5 separate regions of the Homo sapiens genome follow, and all the other regions are linked to region 4. The links are contacts of gene promoters, found by promoter capture Hi-C in blood cells and fetal thymus (Javierre and others, 2016). All regions are on one chromosome and are shown on one strand. The core of a region is centred on a gene start or on the middle of the fragment in contact, and the rest is flanking DNA. Distances in the headings are between cores, read along the strand shown. Region 1 overlaps ZNF891 (zinc finger protein 891). Region 2 holds the start of ANKLE2 (ankyrin repeat and LEM domain containing 2). Region 3 overlaps ZNF268 (zinc finger protein 268). Region 4 holds the start of ZNF605 (zinc finger protein 605). Region 5 has its middle 11 kb from the start of ZNF268.

Region 1 (3,470 bases), core at 91-2,590, 160 kb after region 4:
TTCCAACTACAATCACAAATGATCTTCACTTGGCTGTATATGTTTACCTTTTTAGACTTCATCTAATTGGATCCCTAAGTAACACTAAAAACATTTACCTTCACCTTCCTTTTTTTTTTTTTTTTTTTGAGATGAAGTCCTGCTCTGTCACCAGGCTGGAGTGCAGTGGTGAGATCTCATCTCACTGCAACCTCTGCCTCCCAGGTTCAAGTGATTCTTCTGCCTCAGCTCCTGAGTAGCTGGGACTACAGGCATGTGCCACCACACCCGGCTAATTTTTGTATTTTAGTAGAACCAGGGTTTCACCATGTTGGCCAGGATGGTCTCGATCTGACCTTGTGATCCGCCTGCCTCAGCCTCTCAAAGTGCCAGGATTACAGGCGTGAACCACCACACCTGGCCAACTTCACCTTCCTTTTTGAAACTTGTTTGTCTTGGTTCAGTGAAACTCCACTCTTCTTGTTTTCCTCTTATCTCTCTACTATAGTTCCTTTAAATGTATGTCTTCAGGGTAGGTGGCAGACCTTCCCTTTTCATTCTTACTCACCTTCCAAAGCCTGTTATTGTCTCTTTACTGATGTCACTACAATTTATATCTCTATCTAGACACCTCCTCAATTCTAGAATTGCGTACCAACCTCTTCATCTGGATGTCTCACCATCCTCTGAGGCTAACATGAATAACTACAACAGCAGCTACTGCCTTCTTTCTTCCACCGTATGCCACTCCTTCCATATTTTGTTAGAACTAATCTGGTCAGTATCTGCAAGATCAAGCAGCAAAATCTCATGCTTTACTTAGCATTTAAAATTGGTAACTTCCCCTCTGTCTGAAAACTTTCTGTAGTTCCAATGCTGAAATGTTGGGATACTCTTTTTGCTGTTCTAAACACTTGCTTTCAGTGATCTTGGTTCTATCTTCATCTGCTGCTTAAGCATAAAAGCTCGGTCAACATTCCTTTTCCATACTTTTTTTCTATGTTCCTCTTCAAATGTGTACATCCAACATAAAACATTTAACTGTATATACTTCTGTTTTTCTACAATATGGTGACTGCGTTGACTGTATTTATGTAGTGCTTTAAAAAAAATCAGTAAGAGCCAGGCATGGTAACTCATGCCTGGAATCCTAGCACTTTGGGAGGCAAAGGCAGGAGGACTGCTTGAGCCCAGGAGTTTCAGACCAGTCTGAGCAATGTAGGAAGAGCCTGTCTCTACAAAATATATATTTTTAAAATTAGCCAGGCATGGTGGCATGCATTTGTGATCCCAACTACTGAGGAGACTGTGGTGGATCACCTGAGCCCAGGAGGTCGAGGTTGCAATGAGCCATGACCACACCACTGCATTCTAGCCTGAGAGACAGAGACTCTGTCTGAAAAATTGAAAAAAAAAAAGAAAAAATCAATTAACATATTTTTCTTGGCCGGGCACAGTGGCTCACGCCTGTAATGCCAACACTTTGGGACGCCTAGGTGGGTGGATCACCTGAGGTCAGGAGTTTGAGACCAACCTGGCCAACATGGTGAAACCCCGTCTCTATTAAAAATACTAAAATTAGCCAGGCATGGCGGTGGTGCCTGTAATCCCAGCTACTCAGGAGGCTGAGGCAGGAGAATCACCTGAACCTGGGAGGTGGAGGTTGCAGTGAGCTGAGATTGTGCCACTGCACTCCAGCCTGGGCAACATACCGAGACTCCATCTCAAAAAACAAACAAAAAACCTTATTTTTCTCATGTAGGAACATATCCAGATACAAGTAGTGCAGGGCTGGTACAACTATTTAAAGATTTCTTTGAGGAACAGGGATCTCTTTCTTCTACTTCATCCCTTGGCTACAGCTGTCATTTTCATGATCACAAGATAGCTCTTTCAGCAGCTTCAGGAATGGCCAATTCATAGGGACAAAGATGAAGTGCAAAAAGTAGAGGACAAGATAGATAGTTCTGATCCCAGTGATATGTCTATTTTTGAATCAGCAAGAATGAATGATATGGCTACCCTTAGCTACAAGAAGTCAAAGAAGCGTTCTATAACCAGAGACCTTATTGTTCTTGGCTAAGATGGAATTCATTAGTAAGGAAAGATGAGCTCAAATGTTTGGTTGGCTGCTAGCAATACCAGTCTCACTGGGCCAGAAAACAACTTTTATAAAAACACCAACAAAGCAGTAAAATATAGTCCAGATTCTCTGAACACAATGGAATTAACCTAGAAACCAACAATAAAAAGATAACTGAAAATATACCTACCTCACATATTAAAAATACCTAATTCTAAACAGCCATGGATCAAAAAAAGTCATAATTAGTATTTACAGAAAATGTTATATTAAAAAAAGAGCCATTTGTAACCTTAAATCGTTCTTTTAGAGAACAAAGACTGAGACAAGGAGCTTGGAATCCACCTTAAGACAATGAAAACAGCAATTCCACATTCATAACACTTACAGGGTTTCTCTCTCAGTATGAATTCTCTTGTGTATAATAAGTGAAGAGCTCTGACTGAAGGCTTTTCCACATTGAATACATTCATAGGGTTTCTCTCCAGTGTGAATTCTCACATGCCTCCTAAGGGAAGAGGAAACACTGAAGGCTTTCCTACATTCCTTACATTCATAGGGTTTCTCTCCAGTGTGAGTTCTTATATGCATTCTAAGGGATGAGACCCCACTGAAAACTTTCCCACAGTCACTGCATTCATAAACATTCTCTCCGGTATGAATTTTCTTATGAACTTTAAGGTGAGAGCTCGTGTTGAAGGCTTTTCCACACTCACTGCATTCATAGAGTTTTTCTCCAGTGTGTATTCTCTTGTGCACTATAAGGTAAGAGCTTGTGCCAAAGGATTTTCCACACTGATTACATTCATAAGGTTTCTCTCCAGTGTGAGTTCTCATGTGAGCCTTAAGGGATGTTTTTTGACTGAAAGCTTTTCCACATTGATTACATTCATAGGGTTTCTCTCCAGTGTGAGTTCTTACATGTCTCCTTAAGGTTGAGGAATCATTGAACACTTTACCACATTCTTTACATTCATATTGTTTCTCACCCATGTGACTTTTCTTGTATAAAGTAAGATTAGAAATCCTTTTGAAGGCTTTTCCACATTGATTGCATTCATGTTTCTTTTCAGTATGAGTTTGTCCTTGTTTCTTAAGGGATGATTGATGACACAGCGTTTCATCTTTATTACATTCACAGGCATTCTGTGCCATATGCAAATTGTTAGGTACAGGAAACATATTATGTGTGAAGTGCATTCCATGTTTAGAATATGTGTACTCTTTTTGTACTGTTTGATTTCTCTGAAAATGCCATAGAGTTGTATCACATTCATGACTTTCATAGAGCTTCTCACTTATAGAGTTTTTCACATAATTGTTTATGATTGAATTGTGTTTCAAACATCCAATCTCTGAGTAACATTTTTGGCAATGTTTACTGGTGAAAATGCTCTGTGAAAAAATA
Region 2 (3,536 bases), core at 944-3,443, 190 kb before region 4:
ATTCTCAAAACACCACCCTCACCCGCCGCCACCTTGTCCGCAGCTCTGCCTGGATGATGCCGCTGGTGACAGTAACAGCACTCAGAGGTGCTTAACACATACCAAGTGCTGCACTTACCCAACTCCCAAAAAAGCCTAACCAGGTATCACTATCATCCCCATTCCTAAAAGAGCAGGCTGAAAACAGGTTAAGCCCACAGCAATAAGTGGTAGGGCCCGGTGCGATGGCTCACACCTGTAATCCCAGCATTTTGGGAAGCTGAGGCAGGTGGATCACCTGAGGTCAGGAATTCGAGACCATCCTGGCCAACATGGTGAAACCCCGTCTCTATTAAAAATACAAAAATTAGCCGGGCGTGGTGGCAGGCGCCTGTAATCCCAGCTACTCGGGAGGCTGATGCAGGAGAATCGCTTGAACCCGGGAGGCGGAGCTTGCAGTGAGCCGAGATCGCGCCACTGCACTCCAGCCTGGGCCACAGGGCGAGACTACATTTCAAAAAAAAAAAAAAAAAAAAGTGGTAGGGCCGAGACACAAACTCACACAATTGGACAGGAATCCCCACTCAATCATCAGAAAGCACCTCTCCGCAGTGACTAACAGTCTGACAATTTAGAGTAAAAACAAACTCAGTTTCTCCCACTAGTCTTGCAACATGCTTCGGACACCAGGTATGTGGGGATTTTCTCCCCACAAATCACGCAGGTCGTCAGTTCTGCAGTGGACACAGGCTGGGTGTCGTCTGTCATCCTAATTCAGTCATCTATTCTGACAGCGTCTTCCTGGAGATACCAGCAGACCCCCACAGGTTAACGGCTCAGCCCCGCAAGACTGCCCCCCACTTCCAGTGCCCAGGTTGTTTGACCTGCGCTTGGGACCGACGGGGCGTAACCCGGTGACCTCCTCAGGTTGCGGTAATTTGCTAGAGTGGCTCCCGAACTCACAGACATGTTTTACTTACACTTACCAGCAGAGTATAAAGGATTACAAAGAATACAGGTGAAGAGATGCGTGACGTAAAACCGGGGGGAAGCGCTTGGAAATTCAGGGCCTCTCTGGGCACCGCCTCCAGGAACCCCCACGTACTATCTGGAAGCTCCCTGAACCCAGCCCTTTTGGGTTTTTACAGGAACTTCATTTCACAGGCGTGATTCATCAGCCACTGGTGATCAACGCAACCTTCACCCCTCTCTCCTCCCCAGAGGTTGGGGGTGGGGCTGAAAGTCCCCAGAACCTCTAACCCTGCCTTGGTCTTTCCTGCGACCAGCCCCATCCAGAAGCTCCCTAGGGGCTGCCGGCCACCAGTCCACTCAGCCTACAAAAGACATCACTTTGGAGGTTCCCGGGATTTCAAGAGTTGTATGCCAGGAAAAGGGGATGGAGCTGAAATACACAGTTCACTGTATCAGTTACCTCAAACTTAAAACGACCAAAACCCACCTCTGATCTCCACATCACCCAGACCCGACAGTCTACCGCAAAGCAATAAATGGCCACCTTCTCCCTCTTCCTCTGGCCCCAAACCCCTGAGTTACATTTGCCTTTTCCGTCTCTGCCTTATGTTCCATGACCAGTAACCGCAATGGCTTCACGTTCCAAACACATCCGGGACCCAGGGGTTTCCTCCCCGCGCCGCCCTCCTTTGGGCCATCCCTCCCCAGGTCTCGAGAGACCGCAGCAAGAGTCTCCGCTAACGCCTCGCCGGGCCCCCGCCGCCTTCCCCGGAGGCTGCTCCAGGGCCCGGGAAAGCTCTCACCCCCGAACCCGGCGTGGCCCCTCCGCCCCCGGCCCGGGAAGCCAAGTCCCCGCAACTGCCCTTTCCGCGGCCGGAATGGCCTTTCCCGACCGGCCCTGGTTTCCCCGGCCGCCTCGCCCAACTGCTGCCGGCTCCAGGGGCGCGGCCGGGACCCCAGGCCCGAGGAGGGCGTCGGGGCGGGGAAGGGGCCAGGGTGCGGGGACCCAGCGACCGCCTGGGCCTTACCTGAGGCGGGGGCGGCGGCCGCGCTTGGCGGAGGAACTGGGGTCCCGCTGCGGCCCAGACCTCCCGGCCGCGGGCCCAGCCGCCGCACCAGCCACCGCACAGCGATCAGCAGCACCGAGGCGCCCAGCAGCTCCCAGGCCAGCGCCGCCCACTCGGCCGCCGCCAGCCGCGGCCACAGCATCGCCGCCGCCCGGGCCGCAGCCGCCGAGAAGCCCGCGCCCCGCGCCGCGCCCGTCCCAGGACCCCGCGCCGGGCTGCCCGCGCCCTGCCTGACGGCGCCGCGCTCGAGGCGGCCGGGGCGGCGCGGGGGACACGGACGGCGGCCCCGCTCGCGGAGGCCCGGCGAGGGCGCGGCCCCGGCCCTGGGACCCAAGCGGGCGGGAACGGGCGAGCGGACGGGCGGGCGCGGCAGGCGGGGCGCGGGCAGCCCGACGCGGGGTCCTGGGACCGGCGAGGCGCGGGGAGCGCAATGTGCTGGCGGGGGCCGGGGCTGGGGCCCGGGGAGGCCACCAGGGCGGGGCCGGGCGCGGGGCGGCGCTTCTTCGCGCCTCCCGGCCCCGGCCTGGCGTCCGTGGGGCGCTGTGCGTCTCCGAGAACGAAGCGGCCTCCGGGTTCGTGTGCTCCGAGCCCGAGTACTGTTTGCGGCCGTCGTCCCGTCCTGGAGCAGGAGTGAGGAAGCGCCTCTCACTCCCCCGCGAACCCGCAGAACAGGCCGCCGGCGCTATGGAGACCGGCGGAGCTTCCCGCTCCTTCACCAAGGGGCCCTGACGCGCAGTTGAAAGCGCGGATTTTGCCGGGCGCGGCGGCTGCGTCCGGAGTCCCAGCGCCTTGGGAGGCGAGGCGGGAGGATCCCCACGGCCCGGGAGCTCGAGACCAGCCCGGGCAAATATTTTGAAAGTCATGGTAAAAGCCGCAATTACTTTTGCACCAACCTAATAGTGAGACCCTGTCTCGAAAAAGGGAAGGAGGATTTTACTGTATGTAATTTAGATGTTTTATTTATTTTTTGATGCGGTGTCTTGCTCTGTCGCCCAGGCTGAAGTGCAGTGGCGCGATCTCGGCTCACTGCAGCCTCCGCCTCCTGGGCTCAAGCGATTCTCCTGCCTCAGCCTCCCAAGTAGCTGGGATTACAGGTGCCCACCACCACGCCTGGCTAATTTTTGCATGTTTAGTAGAGACGGGGTTTCCTCATGTTGGCCAGACTGGTCTCGAATTCTTGATGTCAAGTGATCCACCAGCCTCGGCCTCCCAAAGTGCTGGGATTACAGGCGTGAGCCACCGCGCCCCGCCTAATTTAGATATTATTAAATGAAAATGAAAGACCTGAAAAATATAATTGATATCCTTGGTTAAAAACATAATTGATCTGAGCGAGGTGGCTCAGGTCTGTAGTCTCAGCAACTCTGGAGCGTGAGGGGTGATGGTAGTTTCAGTCCGGGAGTTCGAGGCTGCCATGAGCGTGATCTCGCCTGTGAATAGCCACTGCACGCCAGCCTGACCAACATAGCAAGACCCCATCTCTTAAAAAATATCATTGGATGGTACTAATGGTTGGTT
Region 3 (3,318 bases), core at 43-2,542, 230 kb after region 4:
CCAAGGGACTCCTGGTCTGCAACCTCTCCCTGGAACACCCAGGCAGAAGCAGAAGAGTCGCAGAATAGAGAAAGTCCTAGAGTGGCTGTTTATTTCCCAAGAGCAGCCAAAAATCACCAAGTCCTGGGTGAGCTTCTCATTTGTTTATTCCTAGTGTTTTCTTTATTACCTTTTTTTTTTTTGGTGCAGAGAGGGATGGAGATCCTTAGGTCAGAGGGTTAAGTTAATCACTCCTCAGTTCAGTTCAAAACCCCCCCACTTTTTTTTTTGAGACAGGGTCTTGGTCTGTTGCCCAGAGTGGAGCGCAGTGGTGCAATCATAACTCACTGCAGCCTCAAACTCCAGGCTCAAGTGATCCTCCAGCCTCAGCCTCTTGAGTAGCTGGGACAGCAGGCAAGTGCCACCATGCCTGGCTGATGTTTTTTATTTTTAGTAGAGAGGAGGTCTCCCTGTGTGGCTCAGGCTGGTCATCAACTCCTAAGCTCAAGCAGTCCTCCTGCCTCAGCCTCCTGAGGTGCTGGGATGACAGTCATGAGCCACTGTGCCTGGCCCATGGCCCTTTTATCATCATTGGTTCATGTAAGGTCCTTATCTACCTTTATTTATATATTCTCTTATTTCCTCATACTCAATTTTCATCTCCTTTCCCATCCCCAAAAAGTTATTTTGTGTTTTATGTGTATCCTTTTTTTTAAAAAATGTGTGTTTACGTAATATGTATTGTTCGGGAAGCTTGTTAGAAATGCAGAATATCAGAGTTCACCTCAATGCTGTTAATATCAGACTCTTCATTTTAATAAGATTCAGTGATTCATGCACATTAAAGTTTAAAACAAACTTACTATGAAGCCTATATTCAAATTTTTTCCTCGGGTGCTTCTTTTACTTCCAATATTGGCTTGCTTTTTTAGTCTCTTAATGCTTACTTTTGATGAACAGATATTTCTAACTTTTACTGAGTCTGGATTGCAAATTTTTTTATTTTATTGCTAATGATTTTTGTGTCCTATTGTTTTCTTATCCTAAGCTCATAAAGATCTTTTTCTTTATTACTTTATTACTTTACCTTTCACTTTTCGATTTACAGTGCCTTTGGGATTGAGTTCAAATCCATGAACACAGGATTCCCCCATTATTTAGATCTTTGATTTTTAAAAGTCAATGTTTATAGTTTTGAGCATACAGATCCTACACAGATATTTTAGATTTATATGTAAGTTCTTTCTGTTTTGTTGTTGCTGTTGTAAACAGTATCAGTGTCTTAATTCCTTTTTTTTTTTTTTTTTTGAGATGGAGTCTTGCTCTGTCACTCAGGCTGGAGTGCAGTGGCACAATCTGGGCTCACTGCAGCCTCTGCCTCCTGGGTTCAAGCAGTTCTCCTACCTCAGCCTCCCGAGTAGCTGGGACTACAGGTGCGCACTACCATACCCGGCTAATTTTTGTATTTGTAGTAGAGACAGGGTTTCACCATGTTGGCCAGGCTGGTTTCAAACTCCTGACCTCAAGTGATTCACCTGCCTCGGCCTCCTAAAATGCTGGGAATACAGGTGTGAGCCACGGCATCCAGCTAGTTTCTTAATTTCAAAATCAAATGATTTATTGCTGTTATATAGGCATATAGCCAACTTTTATGTATTGACCATGTATCCTGTGACCTTGCTACATTCACTAGTTAGTTCTAGGAACTTTCTTAGGTTTTTTGGTATTTTCTTCATAAACAGTCGTGTCATCTTCATCTTTTCGTTGGCATCCTCAGTTTCCTTACTCTCTCTGTAAAAAAGGACAGTTTTGTTTCTTTCCAATCTGTATGCTGTTAACTACAAATTTTATTTCTTTAATAGATATGTAATAATTAAGCTTATCTGTTTGTTTGTTTTTTTGAGACGGAGTCTCGCTCTGTCGCCTAGGCTGGAGCACAGTGGCACGACCTCGGCTCACTGTAACCTCTGCTTCCTGGGTTCAAGTGAGTCTCCTGCCTCAGCCTCCTGAGCAGCTAGGACTACAGGCATGTGCCACCATGCCCGGCTAATTTTTTTGTATTTTTAGTAGAGACGAAGTTTCACCATGTTAGCCAGGATGGTCTCGTTCTCCTGACTTTGTGATCTGCCCGCCTCGGCCTCCCAAAGTGCTAGGGTTACAGGCGTGAGCCATGGCGCCTGGCCCAAGTTTATCTGTTTTTGAGTAAGTTTGGTAATTTGCGTCTTCCAAGGAATATGTCCTTTTCAACTAACTTAACCAAATTTATGTGCGCAGAGCAGTTAGTCTTTTCTTGTCTGTGAATTCAGTAATGATAACTTCTTTTCATATCTGATGCTTGTCATGTGTGTCTTCTATTTTTGCTTTGACGTAAGTTTTCATTTGTATAAATACCTGGGGCATAGTTGCTGGATTATATGGTAAGACTGTTTAGATTTGTAAGAAGTTGCCAAACTGGCTTCCAAAGTGACTCTACCACTTTTCATTCCCACCAGCAATGAATAAGAGTTCCTATTGCTCCACATCCTCTCCAGCATTTGGTGGTCAGTTTTTTGGATTTTATCCATTCTAATAGGTGTGTAGTGGTGTCTTACTTTTGTCTGGATTTGCAATTCCCTAATGACATATGGTATTGAGCATGCTTTGTATGCTCATTTACCATCTGTATATTTTCATGTTTAGGTCTTTATCCCACAGAGTGGCTGCTACTTACAGCAGTTACCTTTTTAGTCCATAAAGTTTTAATGTGTCTTCTCTTCTGGGTACCAATAGTGCCCTTTCACAGATTTCACCTGACACTGTCAAATAGCATTGCTTCCTTCTTCCTTTGTGCCTACGTTGTAATCTGTGTTCTTTTTTCTTAGCTTCTTTGACTTTCAGTTGCATTTGCATATGTAACTGTTCTTCATTCTGCAGTGCTAAAAGCTTCTTGGTGGCAGGACTGTATTTCATTTATGTTTATATTCCTGGACATAGAGGTTGGTAACTGTATTGCAGATGTAGGAGTGATCAGTCGAACTTGTTTGCCTGACTGTCCTGCCTTTAGTACTGAAGGTCCCATATCTGAGCACTCTTGTATAGGTGGTTTCTAGGATAGCTTAAAACTGTAAAGAGGCCGGGCGCGGTGGCTCACGCCTGTAATCCTAGCACTTTGGGAGGCCGAGATGGGCAGATCACAAAGTCAGGAGATCGAGACCATCCTGGCTAACACAGTGAAACCCCGTCTCTACTAAAAATACAAAAAAATCAGCCGGACTTGGTGGTGGGTGCCTGTAGTCCCAGCTACTCGGGAGGCTGAGGCAGGAGAATGGCGTGAACCCAGGAGGTATACCTTGCAGTGAG
Region 4 (3,118 bases), core at 122-2,621:
ACAAGCACAGAAACAAACCCCAGCCACTCGCCAGCATAGGCCACCCCATACTCGCCTCCGCTATTGGAGACAGGGGTTGAAAGAGCAACCACTGTTATTCAGCTGTCAAATAAAACATACAACTGGACAGAGCAAAGAAAGACGGTTCCAAAGGGTTATTGGAAGTGGGGAAAAAAAGACGCGGAAGAGGGTTGGGAAGGGGAAGGAGAACGGGCTTCTGGGAAGAACCGTGAAGCCACGAGACTCACGTGCATCTCTGCAAGGCAAAAAGGGTTTTTCTTTCACAGAGAGGTGTGAACAAGGTTAGCAAAGACCAGGCCTGGCCAAGCGAGGTGGAAGTGCGGGCGACCAGACAGCAGAGCGGGGAAAGCTTGACCCTGAGCCAGCCTGTTCTCAGGCGAGGCTGCGTGTTGGCTCAGGCTGGGGATGGGCCAAAGCTCAAGAAAATGGGGAAAGGAAAGAAGCTTAGCTAAAGTTTGCTTAAGGAGCATTTTGCTCCGACCGCTCGGTGGAGTTCAGCCAGTCACCGATGAGGCAAGCGACGGCAACGTGGCAGGTCTGTGTGAACAAGGGGCATCCTGGAGGCTGACCAAAGTCATATAGGGAACGGGAGATCTTTGCAGTGAGCCATTTGCTGGAACCCAAAAGGGTGGGAAATTCCTCAACCTTCGCTGTTTTCCAGGAGCACAGGGCTCTGGTGAAATCCAACACTGTCACAGCCGGCAGGCTTTCCAGTGAATGGAACCCACACAAGCAAGCCCCTAAGCCCTCCAACGCAGGCCCCCGCAGAAGCCTCATCATTCACCCCGCTGGCCTCCAATGCTCACCCAAAGGCATCCAAATCATTCATCAGCAGAGTCCTAATCGCTGCAGACAAATCCTCCACACGGCCTCCCAGGGGCCCCTCTCCCCTGGGGCCAAGGGCAACCTCGCGTCCCCTTGCCCCGCCCGTGCTGCACCCCAAGTCTACAGCGACCTCCATAGGCCCCCAGTGAATCGCCCAGCTGACCCCAAATCTCCCCCGACACCCACATTCAGCGCCCCGCCGCCGCCCGCCCTACAGCCCCCACCCCACCCTCTGCCTCCCACCCCCGCGCGCCCCCAGAGCCCCCGCCTGAGGCCCGCCTTCCGCGCATGCGCCCAGGCCGGTCCGCAGGCCTTTCTCGCCCCAGCCGGCAGCCAGCTCGTTCGCGCTGGGGTCACCGCGAGCCGGTCCGCAGCGGGGTCACCGCGATCCCCGGCGCAGACACAGAGGCCGCCCCCAGCCCCGCCGCCTCGTGGTCCCGCCCCCGCTGCACGCTCCCTTACCCCTCGGACCTCGCAGGGCCGCGGCGGACACGGCCCGATCGGGGACGTGAACGCGCAGAACTACATTTCCCAGCGTCCCGCTCGCGCTGGAACTACACTTCCCGGGGGGCTCGGCGGTGCACCCGCCGGGGTCGCGGATTGGAGGTTTCCGGTTGGAAAAGCCCCTTGGCGGCTAACTGGGGAGGACTGGAAGAAATCTAGGATGGAGCCAGCACTGCTGGCCCAACATGTCTGTGAGAGAACCTAAAGGCGCCTCCAGGAGGAAGCGTCTGCATCTTTTCCTTGTTTTTTTTTTTTTTTTTTTTGGAGGCAGGGTCTCGCTCTGTCACCCAGTGGGGAGTGCAGTGGTGCCATGAACGCTCATTGCAGCCTCAGGCTGGTCTCCGACTCCTGGGTTCAAATGATCCTCCTGCCCCAGCCTCCCAAAATGCTGGAATTACAGGCATGAGTCACTGCGTCCGGCTGCTTTTCCATTTTTCATCGTAGCTGTAAGTAATATCGGTAAATGTTAGTGTTACGTGCGTCCGTATAGGAGACCACCTGAGCAGGCTAAGTGTGAGCAACACGCCTGTTTATTCACTTGGGTGCAAGTGGGCTGAGTCTGAGAAAGGAGTCAGCGGAGGGTGGTGGGCTTGTCATTGGTTCTTATAGCTTTGGGATAGGATAGGCGGTGGAGTCAGCAGCAATTTTTTTTTTTTTTTTTTTTTTTGAGACAGAGTCTCACTCTGTCGCCGAGGCTGGAGTGCAGTGGCGCGATCTCGGCTCACTGCAAGCTCCGCCTCCCGGGTTCACGCCATTCTCCTGCCTCATCCTCCTGAGTAGCTGGGACTACAGGCACCCGCCACCACGCCCGGCTAATTTTTTTGTATTTTTAGTAGAGACGGGGTTTCACTGTGTTAGCCAGGATGGTCTTGATCTCCTGACCTCGTGATCCGCCCTCCTCGGCCTCCCAAAGTGCTGGGATTACGGGCGTGAGCCACCGCGCCCGGCCTCAGCAGCAATTTTTTGCGGGCAGGGGAGGATGTTACAAAGTACATTCACAAGGGCGGGGAGGGTGTATTGTCACAAGGGCGGAGAGGAATGTTACAAAGTACATTCACAAGGACCGGGAATATTACAAAGTACATTATCACAAGGGTGGGGGAATGTCACGATGGCTTGACCATGGTGCGGCCAGCTCAGAGGACCTTACATTTAGTACATCCAATCCAGCAGTATTGACAAAAGGAATGAAAATAGATGATAGGGTTGGGCGCGGTGGCTCACGGCTGTAATCCCAGCACTTTGGGAGGCTGAGGTGGGCGGATCACCAGGTCAGGAGATTGAGACCATCCTGGCCAACACGGTGAAACCCCGTCTCTACTAAAAATACAGAACATTAGCTGGGCGTGGTGGTGGGCGCCTGTAATCCCATCTACTCGGGAGGCTGAGGCAGGAGAATCACTTGAACTCGGGAGGCGGGGGTTGCGGTGAGCCATCATGCCGCTGCACTCTAGCCTGGCAACAGAGTGAGACCTCATCTCAAGAAAAAAAAAAGGAAAAATAAATGAGATGAGGACATTACAGGGAAATAAAATATATTTATGGATATATAAAGCAGTGGCTTGTCCCTGTAGTCCCAACTACTGGAGGCTGAGGCAGGAGGATTGCCTGAGCCTGGGAGGTTGAGGCTGCAGTGAGCTATGATGGCAACACTGCACTCCAGCCTGGGCCACAGAGGGAGACACCTTCTCTTAAAAATATTTTTTGGCCAGGCCAGGCGCGGTGGCTCACACCTGTAATCCCAGCACTTTGGGAGGCTAAGGCGGGC
Region 5 (3,151 bases), core at 581-3,080, 210 kb after region 4:
TTTTAGGGCCTGCCGTGGTGGCTCACGCCTGTAATCCCAGAAATTTGGGAAACCGAGATGGGTGGATCACCTGGGGTCAGGAGTTCGAGACCAGCCTGGCCAACATGGTGAAACCCTGTCTCTACTAAAAATACACACACACACACACACACACACACACACACACACAGTCGGGCATGGTGGCACACCTATAATCCCAGCTACTCAGGAGGCTGAGGCAGGAGAATCGCTTGAACCTGGGAGCTGGAGGTTGCTGTGAGCTGAGATAGCACCACTGCACTCCAGCCTAGGTGACAGAGTGAGATTCTGTCTCCAAAAAAAAATTAATTTTTAGAACATTTTCATATACCCCCTCCCCAAAACTTCATATCCATTAGTAATCAGACTAGGCAACCAATAAGCTACTGTTTCTACAGATTTGCCTTCTGAGAACATTTCATGTAAATAGTATCATGCAATATGTGGTCTTATAAGACTTGCTTCTTCCATTCAGTATAATGTTTTGAGGTTTATTTGCTCAGGCATGTACCAGTACTTAAGTCCTTTTTTGCTTAATAGTGTTACATTGTATAGATATGTCTCATTTTGTTTTTCAAACATTAGTTGTTGGATATTTGGGTTGTTCCCACTTTTTGGCTATTATGAATAATGCTTCTGGTAACATTTATGTACATGTCTTTGTGTGAACATTTCTGTTTGTTTTTTTTTAAGAGATGGAAGTCTCACTCTGTCACTCATGCTGGAGTGCAATGGTGTAATCATAGCTCGCTGAAACCTCGAACTCCTGGGCTCAAGCAATCCTCCGCCACCTCAGCCACCCAAGTAGCTGGGACTACAGGCATGTCACCATACCTGAATATCTTTTCCCTTATCTTGGGTAATGAGCTTTGCTAAAGAGCACTTTGGGAGCCTGAGGCTGGAGGATCACTTGAGGCCAGGAGTTTGAGACCATCCTTGGCAACGTGGTGAGACTGTATCTCTCCAAAAAAAAAAAAAAAAGTCAGGCATGGTGGTGCATACCTGTAGTCTTAGTTACTTGGGAGGCTGAGGTGAGAGGATCACTTGAGCCCAGGAGTTTGAGGTTACCTTGAGCTATGATTATACCACTGCACTTCATCTGGGGCAACAGAGCAAGATCATGTTCCTAAAAATAAAAATAAAATATAATATAATATATAAAATTTTTTAAAGCCTGATTTTTTTTAAAGCCTGACATACTTTTTTTTAAAGAGACACCCAGGCTGGAGTACTGTGGCATGATCATAGCTCACTGCAGCCTCAAACTCCTGGCTCAAAGGATCCTCCTGCCTCAGCCTCCTGAGTAGCTGGGACTACGGGTATGCACCCCCACCCCAGCTAATTTAAACAAATTTTTTTTAGAGATGAGGTCTTCTCAAATTGTCCAAAGTGCTTTGGTGGCATTAGCCACCACACCCAGCCTAGTTGACGTACTTAATCTACCTGAGATTTATTTTAAATATATTGTGAGACAGCCATCTTTATTTATATTATTATATAGCTACCTTGTTGTTCCTATACAGTTTATTGAAAAGTTTATCTTTTCCATAATGACTTTTCCCCTAATATTTTCTTATGAAAAATTTCAAACTTACAGAAGAGTTTAAATAATTTTACAGTAAACACTGATATTTCCAATTTTAAGCGGTTATCTACTGTGTTGAAATTTGCACTGATGGTACAAAACGATGGTGGGTAAAACTGCTGGCACTTCAGCATCAATCAAGGTAATAGCAAAAAAAGATATTTATTAGCAGCCATTGTATTCTTCATCACTACACGTTCATAGTTTTGTTTGTTTGTTTGAGACAGGGTCTAGCTCTGTTGCCTAGGTTGGAGTGCAGTAGCATGATCATAGCTCACTGCCGCCTCAAACTCCTGGGCTCAAGCAGTCTTCCTGCCTCAGTCTCCTGAGTAGCTAGAACTGTAGGTGTTCACCACCGTACCTGGGTAATTTTATTTTATTTAGAGATGGGGTCTCGCTATGTTATCCAGGCTGGTCTCATACTGCTGGCCTCATGTGATCCTCCCACCTCAGCCTCCCAAGTAGCTGGGATTACAGAGATGAGCCTCTCCACCCAGATTTGTATTTTTTAAAGGAAGTCAATTTAACTTTAGGATGTCTTTGATAAAGCAGTAAAGAGTCATTTTATTAAATATCAACTCTTAAATACATCTCTTTTTTTTTTGAGATGGAGTCTCGCTCTGTCGCACAGGCTGGAGTGCAGTGGCGCGATCTCGGCTCACTGCAAGCTCTGCCTCCTGGGTTCACACCATTCTCCTGCCTCAGCCTCCCGAGTAGCTGGAACTACAGGCGCCCGCCACCACGCCCAGCTAATTTTTTTGTATTTTTAGTAGAGACGGGGTTTCACCGTGTTAGCCAGGATGGTCTCAAACTCCTGACCTCATGATCTGCCTGCCTCGGCGTTCTTAAGTGCTGGGATTACAGGCGTGAGCCACCACGCCTGGCCTAAATACATCTCTTTTTAATATCTGTGCAATGAACGTTCTGTGCTGTATACTGAAGTTCCACAGTTGTCTCAAGAAAAAGCATTTGTGTGATTATTTACATTGAGAGGTGAACTTTACATTGGGAGCTGAACTTTGCATTAAAGAAGGACTGAGAAACCTTTGCAGGTATTCTCTCAAAAATCAACCAAGTAAACTTGTCACTTAAAGGAAGGCAAATGACAGGGTTTTATTATTTATTTATTTATTGGTCAATATAAAAGTAGAATTTTCAAGAGAAAAATACAATTTTGGTTTTCTTTCCCCAAGATGGCTGACTAGAGGCTTTTTCAGTTCACCTTATCCACTTCTATGAACCAAACTAGTGTCTGGGCAATCACACTTTGAACATATTATCCAAGAGGGAACATAGGAGTTCAAAAGAAAAGCAAAGGGAATCTCCAGAATCTGGGGAAGAGAAGGAGGGCAGGCAGCCTGCAGGGCTGCAATTGGCCAAAAACTGGGAGTGAATCCCTGATATGGGAGAGGGTAACTGAGTGCCTTTCTGTGGTTCATTTTCCCTCTAGGGAATTGTGCAATCCAGGCCACAGGAGAGCACCTTGATCCTCCTGAGCCCTGGATCTAACTTGGGAGCAGTCAGTAGACTGTGAGGAAGAGCTGCTTT

The links. Contacts are between HindIII fragments. The CHiCAGO score rates a contact against its expected background, and 5 or more counts as called.
Region 1: a fragment that was not itself captured here is called in contact with the fragment with the promoter of ZNF605 in region 4 in 2 of 17 cell types (megakaryocytes and M0 macrophages); the score reaches 6.8 in megakaryocytes.
Region 2: a contact is called between the fragment with the promoter of ANKLE2 here and the fragment with the promoter of ZNF605 in region 4, in 1 of 17 cell types (naive CD4 T cells). The highest score is 5.0, in naive CD4 T cells.
Region 3: a fragment that was not itself captured here is called in contact with the fragment with the promoter of ZNF605 in region 4 in 15 of 17 cell types (megakaryocytes, M1 macrophages, naive CD8 T cells and 12 more); the score reaches 12.0 in megakaryocytes.
Region 5: a contact is called between a fragment that was not itself captured here and the fragment with the promoter of ZNF605 in region 4, in 5 of 17 cell types (erythroblasts, naive CD8 T cells, monocytes and 2 more). The highest score is 7.4, in erythroblasts.

What each region holds. Positions count from the first base shown.
Region 1 is chr12:133,117,838-133,121,307 of GRCh38, forward strand. It overlaps ZNF891 (zinc finger protein 891), which reads right to left. Exons shown (of 2, transcript NM_001277291.2): 2 at 1-3,470. The coding sequence ends at 2,447. Among named protein-coding and RNA genes, the nearest start is that of ZNF891, 11 kb to the right of the region's middle. The HindIII fragment of the contact is 3,178 bases long and covers 1-2,929 here.
Region 2 is chr12:132,759,639-132,763,174 of GRCh38, forward strand. It overlaps ANKLE2 (ankyrin repeat and LEM domain containing 2), which reads right to left and starts at 2,194. Exons shown (of 13, transcript NM_015114.3): 1 at 1,980-2,194. The coding sequence starts at 2,160. RefSeq lists enhancers at 1,540-2,408, 2,763-2,862 and silencers at 1,643-2,232, 2,323-2,612. The HindIII fragment of the contact is 14,066 bases long and covers 1-3,536 here.
Region 3 is chr12:133,187,946-133,191,263 of GRCh38, forward strand. It overlaps ZNF268 (zinc finger protein 268), which reads left to right. Exons shown (of 6, transcript NM_003415.3): 3 at 1-127. Among named protein-coding and RNA genes, the nearest start is that of ZNF268, 8.1 kb to the left of the region's middle. The HindIII fragment of the contact is 1,125 bases long and covers 731-1,855 here.
Region 4 is chr12:132,954,935-132,958,052 of GRCh38, forward strand. It overlaps ZNF605 (zinc finger protein 605), which reads right to left and starts at 1,372. Exons shown (of 5, transcript NM_183238.4): 1 at 1,309-1,372. It overlaps LOC124903064 (a long non-coding RNA gene), which reads left to right and starts at 1,615. Exons shown (of 2, transcript XR_007063552.1): 1 at 1,615-1,796. RefSeq lists enhancers at 90-920, 349-643, 921-1,749, 1,503-1,582 and a silencer at 1,003-1,342. The HindIII fragment of the contact is 12,358 bases long and covers 463-3,118 here.
Region 5 is chr12:133,169,212-133,172,362 of GRCh38, forward strand. No RefSeq gene overlaps it. Among named protein-coding and RNA genes, the nearest start is that of ZNF268, 11 kb to the right of the region's middle. The HindIII fragment of the contact is 7,086 bases long and covers 1-3,151 here.